Regions from separate parts of the Homo sapiens genome. Here all the other regions are linked to region 1. Evidence: promoter capture Hi-C in human tissues and cell types (Jung and others, 2019). All regions are on one chromosome and are shown on one strand. Each heading gives the region's core, a stretch centred on a gene start or on the middle of the fragment in contact. The rest is flanking DNA. Distances are from core to core; before and after follow the strand shown.

Evidence for each region. The method cuts DNA at HindIII sites, captures the fragments that hold promoters and counts their contacts. A contact is called where the count stands out against the background at its distance.
Region 2: a contact is called between a fragment that was not itself captured here and the fragment with the promoter of ZNF732 in region 1, in 9 of the 25 tissues and cell types used here (adrenal gland, bladder, dorsolateral prefrontal cortex and 6 more).
Region 3: a contact is called between a fragment that was not itself captured here and the fragment with the promoter of ZNF732 in region 1, in 2 of the 25 tissues and cell types used here (lymphoblastoid cells and spleen).
Region 4: a fragment that was not itself captured here is called in contact with the fragment with the promoter of ZNF732 in region 1 in 5 of the 25 tissues and cell types used here (dorsolateral prefrontal cortex, heart right ventricle, mesenchymal stem cells and 2 more).
Region 5: a fragment that was not itself captured here is called in contact with the fragment with the promoter of ZNF732 in region 1 in 5 of the 25 tissues and cell types used here (bladder, dorsolateral prefrontal cortex, lymphoblastoid cells and 2 more).

The regions. Positions count from the first base shown.
Region 1 is chr4:304,120-306,959 of GRCh38, reverse strand. It overlaps ZNF732 (zinc finger protein 732), which reads left to right and starts at 1,486. Exons shown (of 4, transcript NM_001137608.3): 1 at 1,486-1,652. The coding sequence starts at 1,650. The HindIII fragment of the contact is 17,523 bases long and covers 1-2,840 here.
Region 2 is chr4:186,133-188,972 of GRCh38, reverse strand. It overlaps a transcript of ZNF718 not described here. Among named protein-coding and RNA genes, the nearest start is that of ZNF718, 63 kb to the right of the region's middle. The HindIII fragment of the contact is 8,418 bases long and covers 1-2,840 here.
Region 3 is chr4:406,930-409,769 of GRCh38, reverse strand. No RefSeq gene overlaps it. Among named protein-coding and RNA genes, the nearest start is that of MIR571, 58 kb to the right of the region's middle. The HindIII fragment of the contact is 3,046 bases long and covers 1-2,840 here.
Region 4 is chr4:219,156-221,995 of GRCh38, reverse strand. LOC124900642 (zinc finger protein 141-like) reads right to left here. Exons shown (of 2, transcript XM_047416470.1): 2 at 2,353-2,702. The coding sequence ends at 2,599. It also overlaps the pseudogene ZNF876P. Among named protein-coding and RNA genes, the nearest start is that of ZNF732, 85 kb to the left of the region's middle. The HindIII fragment of the contact is 6,520 bases long and covers 1-2,840 here.
Region 5 is chr4:236,284-239,123 of GRCh38, reverse strand. It overlaps the pseudogene ZNF876P. Among named protein-coding and RNA genes, the nearest start is that of ZNF732, 68 kb to the left of the region's middle. The HindIII fragment of the contact is 5,262 bases long and covers 1-2,840 here.

The DNA of each region.
Region 1 (2,840 bases), core at 237-2,736:
GCTAGTTAGGAAGATAGGGAGGGAGGGTCTCTGGAGAGGAAAAACACCCATGGGACCGCACATGCACCACCCTTGTAGCTAGTGGGAAGAAATGTGGTTAAGAACTTCCTCTTATGCCAGGATGTTGATCAGAAGGGACTGTCCCCACTTAGGCCCAGGTGTAATAAATCAACCTAAATGTCATTAACTTGACCCAGCTCCTTATAATGTTACCTAACATGACATAAGTATTTTGGTTTTAGCTTCACCCTTTCCACCTGCTGTGGGTTTCGCTTGGGCACTCATGGGTAATAACCAAGACGGAGTCACTGTGGTCAATCCCAGGCATGCTCAGATGCAACACTGTTATAGGGGAACTTTACCCCTCCCATTTGGGCAGAGCCCACAGAAGACTTCCTTGTTCTTGCCATATAAACTCAGCCCCATTTCTGGCACCCTGCTTTCATGTCCCCTCTTACTGCTGAGAGCTTTCCCTATGCTTAATAAATCCTATTCTGCTTTACTCACTCTCTGGTGTCTGTATGTCTTATTCTTCCTGGTCATGGGAAGAGAGCCCAGACGTGGTTGAACTGAGGAGACCACCACACTGGTACCAAACAGCAAGGGGGAGACAGTGATCTTCACGTGGACACTCTCAGCTTGCAGCCCCTGCTCTCTCTAGGGGCACTGTCCTACCCATCCTTCATCCTGAGGAGAAAAGTTGGTAGAGAGGCTGGTCCCTTACTTCCAGTAGAAAAGACGTGTTCAGGCCCTCACTTTCTTGAGGTCAGAGCCCTCATGGCTGTACTCGATGTGGCAGCCACCAGACATATGTAGCTACTGAGTACCTGGAATGTGGCTGGTTTGAGGTAAAATGTGCTGCAAACATAAAATACACAGTGAGTTTAGACGAATTAAATCAGAAATATACTTTATTTCTAATTATATATTGATCACATATTGAAACAATATTTTGGATACAATAGGTTAAAATATAAACAATTTCACTTGTTTCTTTTTATTATTTTTGATGTGGCTAATAAAAAATTGAAAATTCACAAATAGCTAACATTTTATTTTTTAAAGGATTGCTTCCCCCTTAAAATCCTACTCAAAAGACCAGAGGACAGAGAGGTTATGAAATCTAAAATATTAAAATAATTGTCATTATATTGTTTCCATTTGTGAACAAGTGTGTGTCTGTGTGTGTGCGCGCGCGTACGTACACAATTTATAAATGGGCGTAACCTTACACACCAGAAGGTTAAAAATGAACCCCCAACAGAGCCAAGCCTAGCACAGAAAGCCCTGACTGAAAATACCTGGAGGCACGAGTCTGTCTCTCTTGCCTCATTAAGTGCACTGTGTGGTGGCAAGTTCTGTCACTCAAATTCTGAGCGTGGGGAGCTTGGTATCTTATCCAATCAGAGCGCTGGATTGAGAACTGCCCAATCAGGCGCGCAGCCGGAGAGGAGGGGGCGGCATCCGGGATCTGGCGCGGCTTTTGCCTTTTGCGCCAGCGTGAGCTCGGTTAGGGTCTCCACGGCCGTGCTTTCACCCCTCAGGGAGGCGTCGGTGATTCGGTCACAGCCTCAGCCTCCGTCGCTCTGTGACCTGCGGGTATTGGATGATTCGTAGCTGAGACTCCGCTACACCCCTGAAGTGGGGAAATGGTGAGTGTGGGGGCAGGGCGTCCCAAGGCTGGGGAGGCCTCATCCGAACCGGCGGGAAATGGCGGCGGCGGGACGGAGTCTGCGAACGGAGTCTCCGCTGCCGCCGCTCAGCCCTCAGTCCTTGGTCCCTTCCGGTGAGGGACCCGGGTTCATGTCGGTCCCCGCAAGGCGGCTTTGGCCCAGCCTGCAGCCCTACTTGTGCAGCTCTGCGCCCGCAGCCCCGCACCTTCCCTGGGCTGTGGGGTGAGGAGGAGCTCATCGGGAAAACGCCTGCGTGGCGTGCGAGGTGCCCGCCTGGGAGGAGCTGTGGTCCGGTCGTCGAGTCCCTACTTTACCCTGTTCGGAATAAGATCGAGGCCCTATCAAAACATAGAGTTCATGTGAGCAAATGGGGACTAATTAATGGGACAGCCCCGGGCATGGCTTGTGGTTTGGGGGCTGCCAGCGGGTCTTGAAGGAAAAGCTTTTGTGAGGTGTGTGAGGAAGCGAAGCAAATCACCCGCCCGCTCCAACTTGCCCACCAGTCCCCTTGCCCTGTGCGCCTCCTCCGCGTGGCTGTTCCTGAGTGGCATCTTTTAGAATACGCTGGTGTGGGCGCGCACAGCGCTTCGCTGAGTTCTGTGAGTAGTTCTGCCACATTATTGAACTTGAGGAGGGTGTGGGCGCCCCTGGTTTGTAGGCAGGCGTTCAGAAATGAAGACGGGTGTCCAGAGGCAGGGACTGCCGTCTGCAGGGGGGGGGCAGCTGCGGGAAGAGCGCTGAGCTTGTGGGGTCTTCGCTGACTCTGGGTGGTGTCGTTAGTGAGTTGCTGGACACCGCGTTGGGGTTGGAGCATTGACTGATGTTGAGCAAACTCCGCACGTTTTCTGTCAGAAGAAAGACATGGCTGAGCCTGGGCTGGAGAAAGATGCCTGGTGTCTGCGGGAGGCGCGGCCGGGTTCTGCACATGTGCTGTCCCGCTGGGCACTGTCCTTTTCCTCCAGGTCTCCTTCCGGGGAGAGAAGGGACTGGGAACTTAGAGGAAAGGAGTTCTGAGAAACATCCCTTCCCTGCACCCTGCTGCCAGCCCCCACTTAATGCTAACCCACTCCCGAGGACGCTCACTGGCCATTCGCATTGCCACACTCCTCCCAGGACAGGGTTCTACCCTCAGGAATTGTGCCCGTGACAGCTTTGCTCCTAGGGTAT
Region 2 (2,840 bases), core at 125-2,624, 120 kb after region 1:
CAAAAAAAAAAAATCAAACACACATGAGACTTTGAAAATAAAAACAAAATTTACTTCTGATATCAGTTCTTACTAAAATGTTATCATAACCAAACAATAGGGTACTACTATAAGGATAGATTTTGAGGACCTATCTGGGAGTGACACAGAGCCAACAAAACGCCCAGCCCCAGCCAAGAATAGGGGTGAGTGAATTTGCAACCCTAGGAAACCACACTTCTCCCACAAATCTTTGCAACCCTTGTATTAGGAGAGCCCCTTGTGAGCCCACTTGACCAGGGCCTTGGGCCTGACACACAGAGTTGTGTGGAGTCTCAGTAGAGCAGCTGCTTAGACACACACAGAGACCCAGGAGCTTTACACACTTCAGTCCTGGGATTTCCAACAAAGGTGACTGCAACTCAGACAAGGTGGGAGGTCAGTGCATGCCTCCAGGAAGAGGCTGAATCCAGGGGGATGAGCAGCAACAGTCTGTGGGCCCCACTTCCACTGCACCTCATATGATAAGACCCACTGGCTTGGAATTCCAGCCACCAGCAACAGCCTAGCACCTGACTGAGATGGGTCAGAGCCCCTGGGGGAGGGCCAGGCCACTATCTTTGCTGCTTGGACGTTGGCTTTGGAGAATCCAAACAATCCGAATGAGGAAGGGACCCCACAGCACAGCACAGCACAGCTGTTTTACCAAGATATGGCCAGGCTGCTTCTTCAAATAAAAACCCAATCCATTATCCTCGCTGGATGAGTCTTCCCAGCAGGGGCCTCCAGCCAGCCCCACCCATATTCTATGAACAGAGTTCTGATTTCTCCCTAAGATAGAGTGCTCAGAAAGGGGAAGATGGGCTGCTACCTTAGCTGTTTGTGTGACTCAGCCATTCCAGCTTATGAGTCCAAGCTGACTGGGACAAAGGTGGTTCCCCAGCATGGAATGGCTGTTTTGTCGAGGCATGGCATAACTGTTTCTTTAAATGGGACCCCAATCCATTTTTCCTTGCTGGGCAGGTACTCCCAGCCAGGGCTTCCTGCCACCCATGCCCATGTTCTAAGGCCAACAGAGTTCTAATTTCTCCCTGGGATGGGGGTGCCCAGGAGGCAGAGTGGGTCACCATCTTTGCTGTTTGGGCATCTCAGCCAGTGCAGCCTGTGGGCCTTGGAGAGCCCAAGCCAATTGGGGGCTGAACAAATCCCCCCAACACAGTACAGTTGCTCTACCAAAACACAGCCAGACTCCTCCTTTAATTGGTTGCTCATCCCCTTTCCCCTGATTGGGTGAGACCTCCAAACCATGGTCTCCAGCCACCTCCTACAGTTGTGTTCAGGCAGTCAACAGGTCAGTACCCCCTGGGATGGAGACCCCAGAGGAATGTGCATGCTGCCATCCTTGCTGTATTGCAACCTTAACTGGTGATACTTCCAGGTACTTAAAAAACCAAGGTGACTGCCAGGCACAGTGGCTCACATGGCTCATGCCTGTGATCCCAGTGCTTTGAGAGGCTAAGGTGGGTGGATCTTGAGGTCAGGAGTTCGAGACCAGTCTGGCCAATATGGTGAAACCCTGTCTCTACTAAAAATACAAAAATTAGCTGGGCGTGGTGGTGCACACCTGTAGTCCCAGCTACTCGGGAGGCTGAGGCAGAAGAATCGTTTGAACCCTGGAGGTGGAGGTTGCAGTGAGCCGAGATCACACCACTGCACTCCAGCTTGGGCTACAGAGCGAGACTCCGTCTCAACAAAAAACAAAAACAAAAACAAAAAAAACCCCAAAAAACAAAAAAACAAAAAAACCAAGCCTGGAGTGGACCCCCAGCAAACCACAGTAGCCCTACAAAAGAGCAACCAGATGATTAAAAGAAAAACAAACAGACAAACGACAACAAAAAACCCCCACAATAACCCCATCCAAAGGTCAGCAACCTGAAAGATTGAAAATAGATAAGCCCACAAAGATAAGAAGTGGCACAAACATGATGAAAACTCAAAAAGTAAGGGTGCACCATGTTCTCCAAATGACTGCAACACCTCTCCAACAAGAGTTCAGAACTGGGCTGAGGCTGAAATGGCTGAAATGATAGAAGTAGGCTTCAGGATGTGAATACAAATGAGCTTTGCTGAGCTAAAGGGGCACATTGTAACCCAGTGAGCTAAGAATCAAGTTAAAACAATGCAGGAGCTGACAGCCAAAATAGCCAGTATACATAGAAACATAAATGACCTGATAAAGTTGAAAAAACACACTACAAGACCTTCACAATGTAATCACAAGTATTAATAGCACAATAGACCAAGTGGAGGAAAAACATCACAGAGCTTGAAGACTGTCCTTTCTGAAATAAGACAGGCAGACATGAATAGAGAAAAAAATGAAAAGGAATGAACAAAACCTCTGAGACGTATGAACATATTTCAGGATATCATCCAGGAGAACTTCCTCAACCTAGCTAGACAGGCCAACATTCAAATTCAGGAAATGCAGAGAACCCCAGTAAGATACTCCATGAAAAGACCATTCCCAAGTCATATAATCACCAGATTCTCCAAGGTCAAAATGAAAGAAAAAATGTTAAGGCAGCCAGAGAGAATGGTCAGGCCACCTACAAACAGAAGCCCATCAGACTAACAGCAGACCTCTCAGTGGAAACCCTACAAGCCAGAAGAGATTGGGGGCCAATATTCAACATTCTTAAAGAAAAGAAATTCCAACCCAGAATTTCATATCTGGCTAAGTTAAGCTTCATAAGTGAAGGAGAAATAAAATTTTTTCAGACAAGCAAATACTGAGGGAATTTATTACCAGCAGACTTGCCAGACAAGATCTCCTGAAGGAAGCACTAAATATGGAA
Region 3 (2,840 bases), core at 101-2,600, 100 kb before region 1:
GTGGTCCTTCCCATCAAGAGATCTGCAGGGAAACAGCCAGCCATAATCCTGGAGGCAGGCCTGTGTATCCTGGCCTCAGCTGTGCTCCCTGAAGCAGCCCTGTGACTCAGTTCTAACCCTCACAGCCACAATCCATGGCCAGCTGTACACACTCAGGGACCCACATAGAGACTTTGAAAACTGTTCCCAGGTAGTCAGCAGAAGCCAAACCCATTCATACACCTTGTATTTGACCCATCATATGCAGACAAACTTTAAACCCTAACCTACTGCCTGCCATATAGATTAATGTCCTCAAGGATATTTAATCTTTCCATGGCCCAGAAAGAATCCATGAGTGTCGAAATCTCTGGTAACACAATCATCAAAGGCAGACCCCACAGCACCCTTGTGAGCCAGCTACTACAACCCTTCTTCTCTGCAACCGCAGAGGTAATCTCAGCCTGTGGACCAAACAAATGGGAGATCTTTGTCAGGCCTCTGAGCCCAAGCTAAGCCATCATATCCCCTGTGACCTGCATGTATACATCCAGATGGCCTGAAGCAACTGAAGATCCACAAAAGAAGTGAAAATAGCCTTAACTGATGACATTCCATCATTGTGATTTGTTCCTGCCCCCACCCTAACTGATATATTCTCCCCCAACCCTTAAGAAGGTACTTTGTAATATTCTCCCCCACCCCGCCCTTAAGACGGTACTTTGTATGCCTATCCCAAACCTGTAAGAACTAATGATAATCCCACCACCCTTTGCTGACTCCTTTTTTGGCCTCAGCCCATCTGCACCCAGGTGAAATAAACAGCCTTGTTGCTCACACAAGCCTGTTGGTGGACTCTCTTCATATGGACACGCCTGACATTTGGTGCCAAGGACCCAGGTCAGAGGGACTCCTTTGGGAGACCAGTCCCCTGTTCTCGCCCTCACTCTGTGAGGAGATCCATCTATAACCTCAGGTCCTCAGACCAACCAGCCCAAGGAACATCTCATCAATTTCAAATCAGGTAAGCAGTCTTCACTCTTCTCTAGCCTCTCTCACTACACTTCAATCTTCCTCTCTCGCTACCCTTCAATCTCCCTGTCCTTCCAATTCCAGTTCTTTTTCCTCTCTAGTAGAGACAAAGGAGACATATTTTATCTGTGGACCCAAAACTCTGGCGCCGGTCACAGACTCAGGAAGACAGTCTTCCCTTGATGTTTAATCGTTATGGGGATGCCTGCCTGATTATTCACCCACATTCCATTGGTGTCTGATAACCGCAGGGATGCCTGCCTTGGTCATTCACCCACATTCCCTTGGTGGCAAGTCAATTGCGGGGACACCTGCTTGGCTGCTCACCCACATTGCAGCCCAGGGCTGCTCACCCACCCTCTTCTCTTTGTCTCTACCTTTCTCTTTAAACTTACCTCCTTCATTATGGGCAAACTTCCACCCTCCATTCCCCCTTCTTCTCCCTTAGTCTGTGTTCTCAAGAACTTAAAACCTCTTCAGTTCACATCTGACCTAAAGCTTAAATGCCTTATTTTCTTCTGCAGTACCACTTGGCCCCAATACAAACTCGACAGTAGTTCCAAGTGGCCAGAGAATGGCACTTTCGATTTGTCTATCCTACAAGATCTAGATAATTTTTGTTGAAAAATGGGCAAATGGTCTGAGGTGCCTGACGTCCAGGCATTCTTTACACATTGGTCCCTCCCTAGTCTCTGTTCCCAATCCGACTCATCCCAAATCTTTCTTCTTTCTCTCCTGTCTGTTCTTTCAGTCTCCAACCCAAGATCTGAATCCTTTGAATCCTTGTTTTCTACAGACTCATCTGACCTCTCCCCTTCTCCCCAGGCTGCTCCTCGCCAGGCTGAGCCAGGTCCCAGTTCTTCCTCAGCCTCTGCTCCCCCACCCTATAATCTTTCTATCACCTCCCCTCCTCACACCCAGTCTGGCTTACAGTTTCGTTCTGCAACTAGCCCTCCCCCACCTGCCCAACAATTTCCTCTTAAAGAGGTGGCTGGAGCTAAAGGCACAGTCAAAGTTAATGCTTCTTTTTTCTTTATCTGACCTCTCCCAGATCAGTTAGCGTTTAGGCTCTTTTTCGTCAAATATAAAAACCCAGCCCGGTTCCTGGCCCGCTTGGCAGCAACCCTGAGATGCTTTACGTCCTAGACCCAGAGGGGCCAGAAGGCCGCCTTATTCTTTTTTTTTTTTTTTTTTTTTTTTTTTTTTTTGAGACGGAGTCTCGCTCTGTCGCCCAGGCCGGACTGCGGACTGCAGTGGCGCAATCTCGGCTCACTGCAAGCTCCGCTTCCCGGGTTCACGTCATTCTCCTGCCTCAGCCTCCCGAGTAGCTGGGACTACAGGCGCCCGCCACCACGCCCGGCTAATTTTTTGTATTTTTAGTAGAGATGGGGTTTCACCTTGTTAGCCAGGATGGTCTCGATCTCCTGACCTCATGATCCACCCGCCTCGGCCTCCCAAAGTGCTGGGATTACAGGCGTGAGCCACCGCGCCCGGCCCGCCTTATTCTTAATATGCATTTTATCACCCAGTCAGCTCCTGACATGAGAAAAAGCTTCAAAAATTGGAATCTGACCCTCAAACCCCACAACGGGAATTAATCAACCTCGCCTTCGAGGTGTACAATAATAGGGAGGAGGTAGCCAGACAGCAACGCATTTCTGAGTTACAGCTACTTGCCTCCACTGTAAGACAACCCACAACCACATCTCTAGCATACAAGAACTTCAGAACCTCCAAGCCACAGCTCCCAGGGGTCCCTCAAAACATCCTCATGGACCTTGCTTCAAATGCCAAAAGCCTGGCCACTGGGCCTCAGCATGCCTGTAGCC
Region 4 (2,840 bases), core at 110-2,609, 85 kb after region 1:
AATACTATTCCGCCAGAAGAGAAGGAAATGTAGCCATTTACAACATGGATAGACCTGGAGGACGTTATGCTAAATGAAATAAGCCAAACACAGAAAGACAAAGAAACTCCTTGTTTTAAGTTAGATGAGAAATCTAAAAAAGTACACTCATAGAAGCAGAGTATAAAATGGTGGTTGCTAGTGCCTGAGGGTAGAAATATGAGGAGATGTTCAAAGAGTACAAATTTTTAGTTATAAGTTGAGTAAGTCTGAGAAATCTAATGTAAATTAGCATTAGATTAGCCAAATAGCATTGTGTTTATAGTTAGTAATACTGTAATGTATGCTTACAATTTGCTACTACAGTAGATCTTAAGTGTTCTTACTCCAAAAAAAATTGAGGTACTAGATGTGCTCATCAACTTGACTGTATTTTGTTTCACAGTGTACATGCGTATCAAATCATTACATTGTATACATTAAATATATAGTTATACCATTTTTATTTATCAGAAAAATCCATGTCACACAAACACAGATGTACAGTAAGTACTCAATGTTCAAAATAGGTTCTTGAAAACTGCGTCTTTAAATAAAACAATGTCGGTATATGACATTCAAACATAACCTTGTTTCTATCAATTCAACTATAGTAATTCTGCCTCTGGGTTTAAGCGATTCTCCTGCCTCAGCCTCCTGAGTAGCTGGGATTACAGGTGCATGCCACCACACCCGGCTAATTTTTTGTATCTTTAGTACAGATGGGGTTTCACCATGTTGGCCACGCTGGTCTCAAACTCCTAACCTCATGATCCACCCACCTCGGTCTCCCAAAGTTCTGGGATTACAGGTGTGAGCCACCGTGCTGAGCCAAAATTAGTTTTCTTAAACAATATATTGCTTCACTTACAGTTTCCATGAAACTATCAACAATGTTAAGTGAGAATTTACAATACACATATATAACTTATATGGGTGGGTGTATGTGTGAGACCCACATTTTTATATAGATATCAATAGATCTCAATGATGAAACCCCAGTAGGCTTCTTTTTTTTTTTTTTTTTTTTTTTTTGAGACGGAGTCTCACTCTGTTGCCCAGGCTGGAGTGCAATGGCGCCATCTCGGCTCACTGCAACCTCGGCCTCCCGGGTTCAGCGATTCTCCCACCTCAGCCTCCCGAGTAGCTGGGATTACAGGTGCCTGCCACCACGCCCAGCTAATTTTTGCAATTTTAGTAGAGATGGGGTTTTGCCATGTTGGCCAGGCTGGTCTTGAACTCCTGACCTCAGGTGATCCACCCACTTCAGCCTCCCAAAGTGCTGGGATTACAGGCGTGAGCGACTGCGCCTGGCCCCCAGTAGGCTTCTTACTAAAAGTATAAGATAATAGTTATTAAGAAATAATAATATACACTTAGCAGTGTTCTAAGCTAGTTAATGACAGTGCATTTAAGAAATCTTGAAGGTGAGTAGATACTTTAATCAAGTGGTGCCCAATGCTATGAATGTAAGAACATTTCACTTATCTGTTGCAGTAGCTATCATAAAAATTATTTATGAAATTTTTTTTAAAGTTCATCAGTTATCATTAGTGTTAGTGTATTTTATGTGTGGCCCAAGATAATTCTGCTTCCAATGTGGCCCAGGGAAGCCAAAAGGTTGGAAAACCATGCTTTAAACTATATTATAATTTGAAAATTTACACATCTAGAGTTTAAATTACAAATCTCAGTTTATACTAAATCAATAACATTTTGAAGTACAATCAACAATACATTTTTCATATTTAGGAAAATGCTTATCATTCTTATAAAATTGCTAAGAAAGAATTTTTGTAGAATTACATTTGCAACAGGATTAAAAATCACTAAGCAGAAAAGGTGCAACATCTGTCCCTAGTGTTCCTGGGATTTCTGAACCAAATTCCAATATGTCCACTACTTGCCTTACATATTTAGGCATGATACAAAATCAATATTTGAAAAAAATACGTTAACATAGAGCTCCTCAATAACACAATTATTCCTATATTTCCAAAAGCAATGGAACAGCAGTGAGATCATGCAGCCCCTTATAAGTGATAAAGTAGACATTGGCTATCCCTGTAAACTTGAAGGGAGATCTCTAAAGAAAAAAGAGGGCTGGGTGTAGTGGCTCATGCCTGTAATCCCTGCATTTTGGGAGGCCGAGGCAGGTGGATCACCTAAAGTCAGGAGTTTGAGACCAGCCTGGCCAACATGGCAAAACCCTGTCTCTACTAAAAATACAAAAATTAGCTAGGTGTATTGGCAGATGCCTGTAATCCCAGTCACCCAGGAGGCTGAGGCAGGAGAATTGCTGGAACCTGGGAGGCACAGGCTGCAGTGAGCTGAGATCACACCACTGTACTCCAGTCTGGGTGACAGAGCAAGACTCCATCTCAAAAAAAAGAAAAAAGAGAATTTTTAGAAGATTTAACAGCATGGGGCTGAAGATGCCCCTATTTGTGAACATGAGAAAAAATGCAGCCTTTTCAGAAATTATTTGCATTGAAGAAGTGCTTTCCAAAGTACATTTTAAGGCCTGACTTCCTTCATCACCTTTGGTCCCCTTGCCTGTGTCCTCTCCTTCATTCACTCTCACCTACCTGGGGCTTTGGCTACTGTCTCATGTGTCTTCCCATTAAAGGGCTCTTTTCTTTGCTCCAAACAGGTGATCAGGTCTGAGTTAAAGAGAGCAACACCTGTTTTATTTAAAAAATAAGATAAAATAACGTGACTACTGCTGAAGATTCTCCAATTACCAACCTAGTACTATGCTAAGAAGAAAAGAGAAATTATGGAAGATTCTAAAAAATTAATCCAAAAATTGTTTCCTGATA
Region 5 (2,840 bases), core at 202-2,701, 68 kb after region 1:
CTGCCCACCCAGGAATCTGGAGGGAGAAATGCCGTGAACCCAGAAACAAACCTGAAGACTTTGGTCTCAGCTGTGTATCCTGAAGCAGCCCTATGAATCAGTTCCACACCCTCTCAGCTGTGACCAAGGGTCAGTACTTCTCATCTAGGAATCTGTCCAATGACTGGGTTAGAAGATTTCTAAAAACCCAGCAAGAGCCACACAGCAGAAGCCATACCTGCTCACATGGATTATATCAGCTCTGTCATCTGCATATACAACTGGAGACTTTTTTTTCTCAGCACCAGTCTTACTGATCAAGATCCTGAAGAAAGTTCAGTCTTCCTAGAAAATAGACAGAATCCACAACAGTCTGATGCCCTAATAACAGGTCTGCCAAGCATGAACTTCACTGTGATCCAGATCCAATGCACCTTACTGCAAACTCACTGGAAATCTCATCAGCACAGAGATCCAATAGGAGAAAATATTTACCACCCCAAACTAATCTATAATGACTGCAAGAGATATTTACTCCTTCAGATGCAAGGACATAAAAACAAGGCATCACAGACCATGAAAGATCAGGCAAATGTAACACCACCAAAAGAAACTAAAAATTCTCTAGTAACCACTTACAGTAAAACACAGATCTAAAAAATGGCTAAGAATTCAAAATAATTATCTTAAAGAATCTCAATGAGATGCAAAAAAACCACACATTACTAAATTTTTTTTGCAACAACGTATGAACAGAATCACAATTATAATAAAGAGAAACCATTAAAACAGAACCAGTTAGATATGCTGGAGCTGAAGTACACAATAGGAGATCTAAAATATTTAAGAGAAAGCTTTAACAGGAGACTCCGTTATACAGGAAAAAAAAAATCAGCAAATGTAAAAGTTATTTGAAAGTTCCTAGTTAGAATTTAAAAAAAGAATGCGAGTGAATAAAGCATTTGTCCCCCATATTTCATAATCAATGGTAAGGATGTACAATTTTAGGAGGTTCATGAGAAAGAAAAAAATTTTTAAATTGTTTAAAGATATAATGTCTTAAATTCTTCCCAATCTTGGAAGGAATATAGATATTAAATTTAAAAGCTCAAAATGTCTATAGCAAGAAGAATCTAACAGAAATTGTCCAGAACACATTATAATTAAACTGCCAAAATTCAAAGACAAACAAAAAAGAAAAAAAAAAGAAAGAATGAGTAATACCCAGTATGAGTATAATAATTTAGTTGCACATTTTAAAATAACTAAAAGAGCATAATTGGATTGTTTATAACCCAAATTATAAATGCTTGAGGGGATGGATATACCCCATTTTTGATTATGTGATTGTTACACATTACATGCCTGGATCAAGACATCTCATGTGCCACACAAATATATACATGTCCTACATACTCACAAAAATTAAAATTAAAAAAAGAAAACCCTTTACCTGGGGTTTGCCTGCAAAACCTAAAATAAAGAGTAAAAAGTAAAAAAAAAAAAAAAAAAGCAAGAGAAAAGAGATTCTTCACATTCAAGGGAACTCCTATAAGGTTATCAGCAGATTGCCCAGCAAAAACCATGCAAGCCACACAGGAGTGAAACCATATATTTAAAATGCAAATGAAGGAAGAAAAAGAAAAAACCTTGACAACTAAGAAGACGATACCTGACAGAGCTGTTCTTTAGAAATGAAGTATCAAAATCTTCTCAGATTAAAAAAAAGTTGAAAGTTTTAATCACTAGACCTGACTTACAACAAATGCTAATGAGAATTTAAGTTGTAATGGAATCCAAACTTACAACAAAATTATAAATCTTACTGAAAATCATATATACATAGTCGAATTTAGAAGGCTATAAAACTAATTATGGTGAATGAATTAATCACATTTAACTCTGGTATAAAAGCTACAAGAAAAAATTATTAAGACTACATATAGCTTCAATAATTTGTTAAAGGGTATACGATATAAAAAGATGTAGAGTGTGACATAAATACTATGTTGAAGGGAGTAAAATTGTTTAATTTTTCTATACATAGAAGCTAACTTTTGCTTGAGGCCAGGAGTTCAAAACTAGTCTGGTCAATATAGCAGGACCCTGTCTCTTAAATAAGTACATAAATAAAATTAAATAAAGATCTCAGAAAGCTATTTAGTCTTTTAAAAAAAGAAGCAGCTGGGCCTGATGGCTCATGCCTGTAATACTAGCACTTTGGGAGTCCAAGGCAGGTGGACTGCTTGAGCCCGGGAGTTCAACACCAGCCTGAGCAACTTGGCAAAACCCTGTCTCTACAAAAAATACTAAAAAAATTAGCCAGACATGGTGGCATGTGCTTGTAGTCCCAGCTACTTGGGAGGCTGAGGATTGCTTGAGCCTGGGGAGGTCAAGTCTGCACTGAGCTATGAATGTACCACTGCACTACACTGGGTAACAAAGCAAGACCCTATCTATACAAACCAAAAGCTAAATTCTTATCTGAAATTAGATTTTATAACTATGAGATGTTTTACATAAGCTTCCTGGAAATTACAAAAAAAACTGTAGTGGTTACACACAAAAGAAAAAGAATGCATATAACAACAAAAACAACAAAAATTCAAGAAAATACAGGGGAAGACAGCATGAAACAATGAAAAAACAAACTACTAAATGGTCAGAAAACAGTAAGAAAATGGCAGTAAGTTCTTATCAATCAGTAATTCATTTAAATATATAAAGATTTAGTTATCCAATAAAAACACATTGCTATAGTTTGAGCGTCCCCTCCAAAATTCATGTTAAAATTTAACTGACATTGTGAGAAAATTAAGAAATGAGGCCCTTAAGAGTTATTAGGTCATGAGCACTCTACT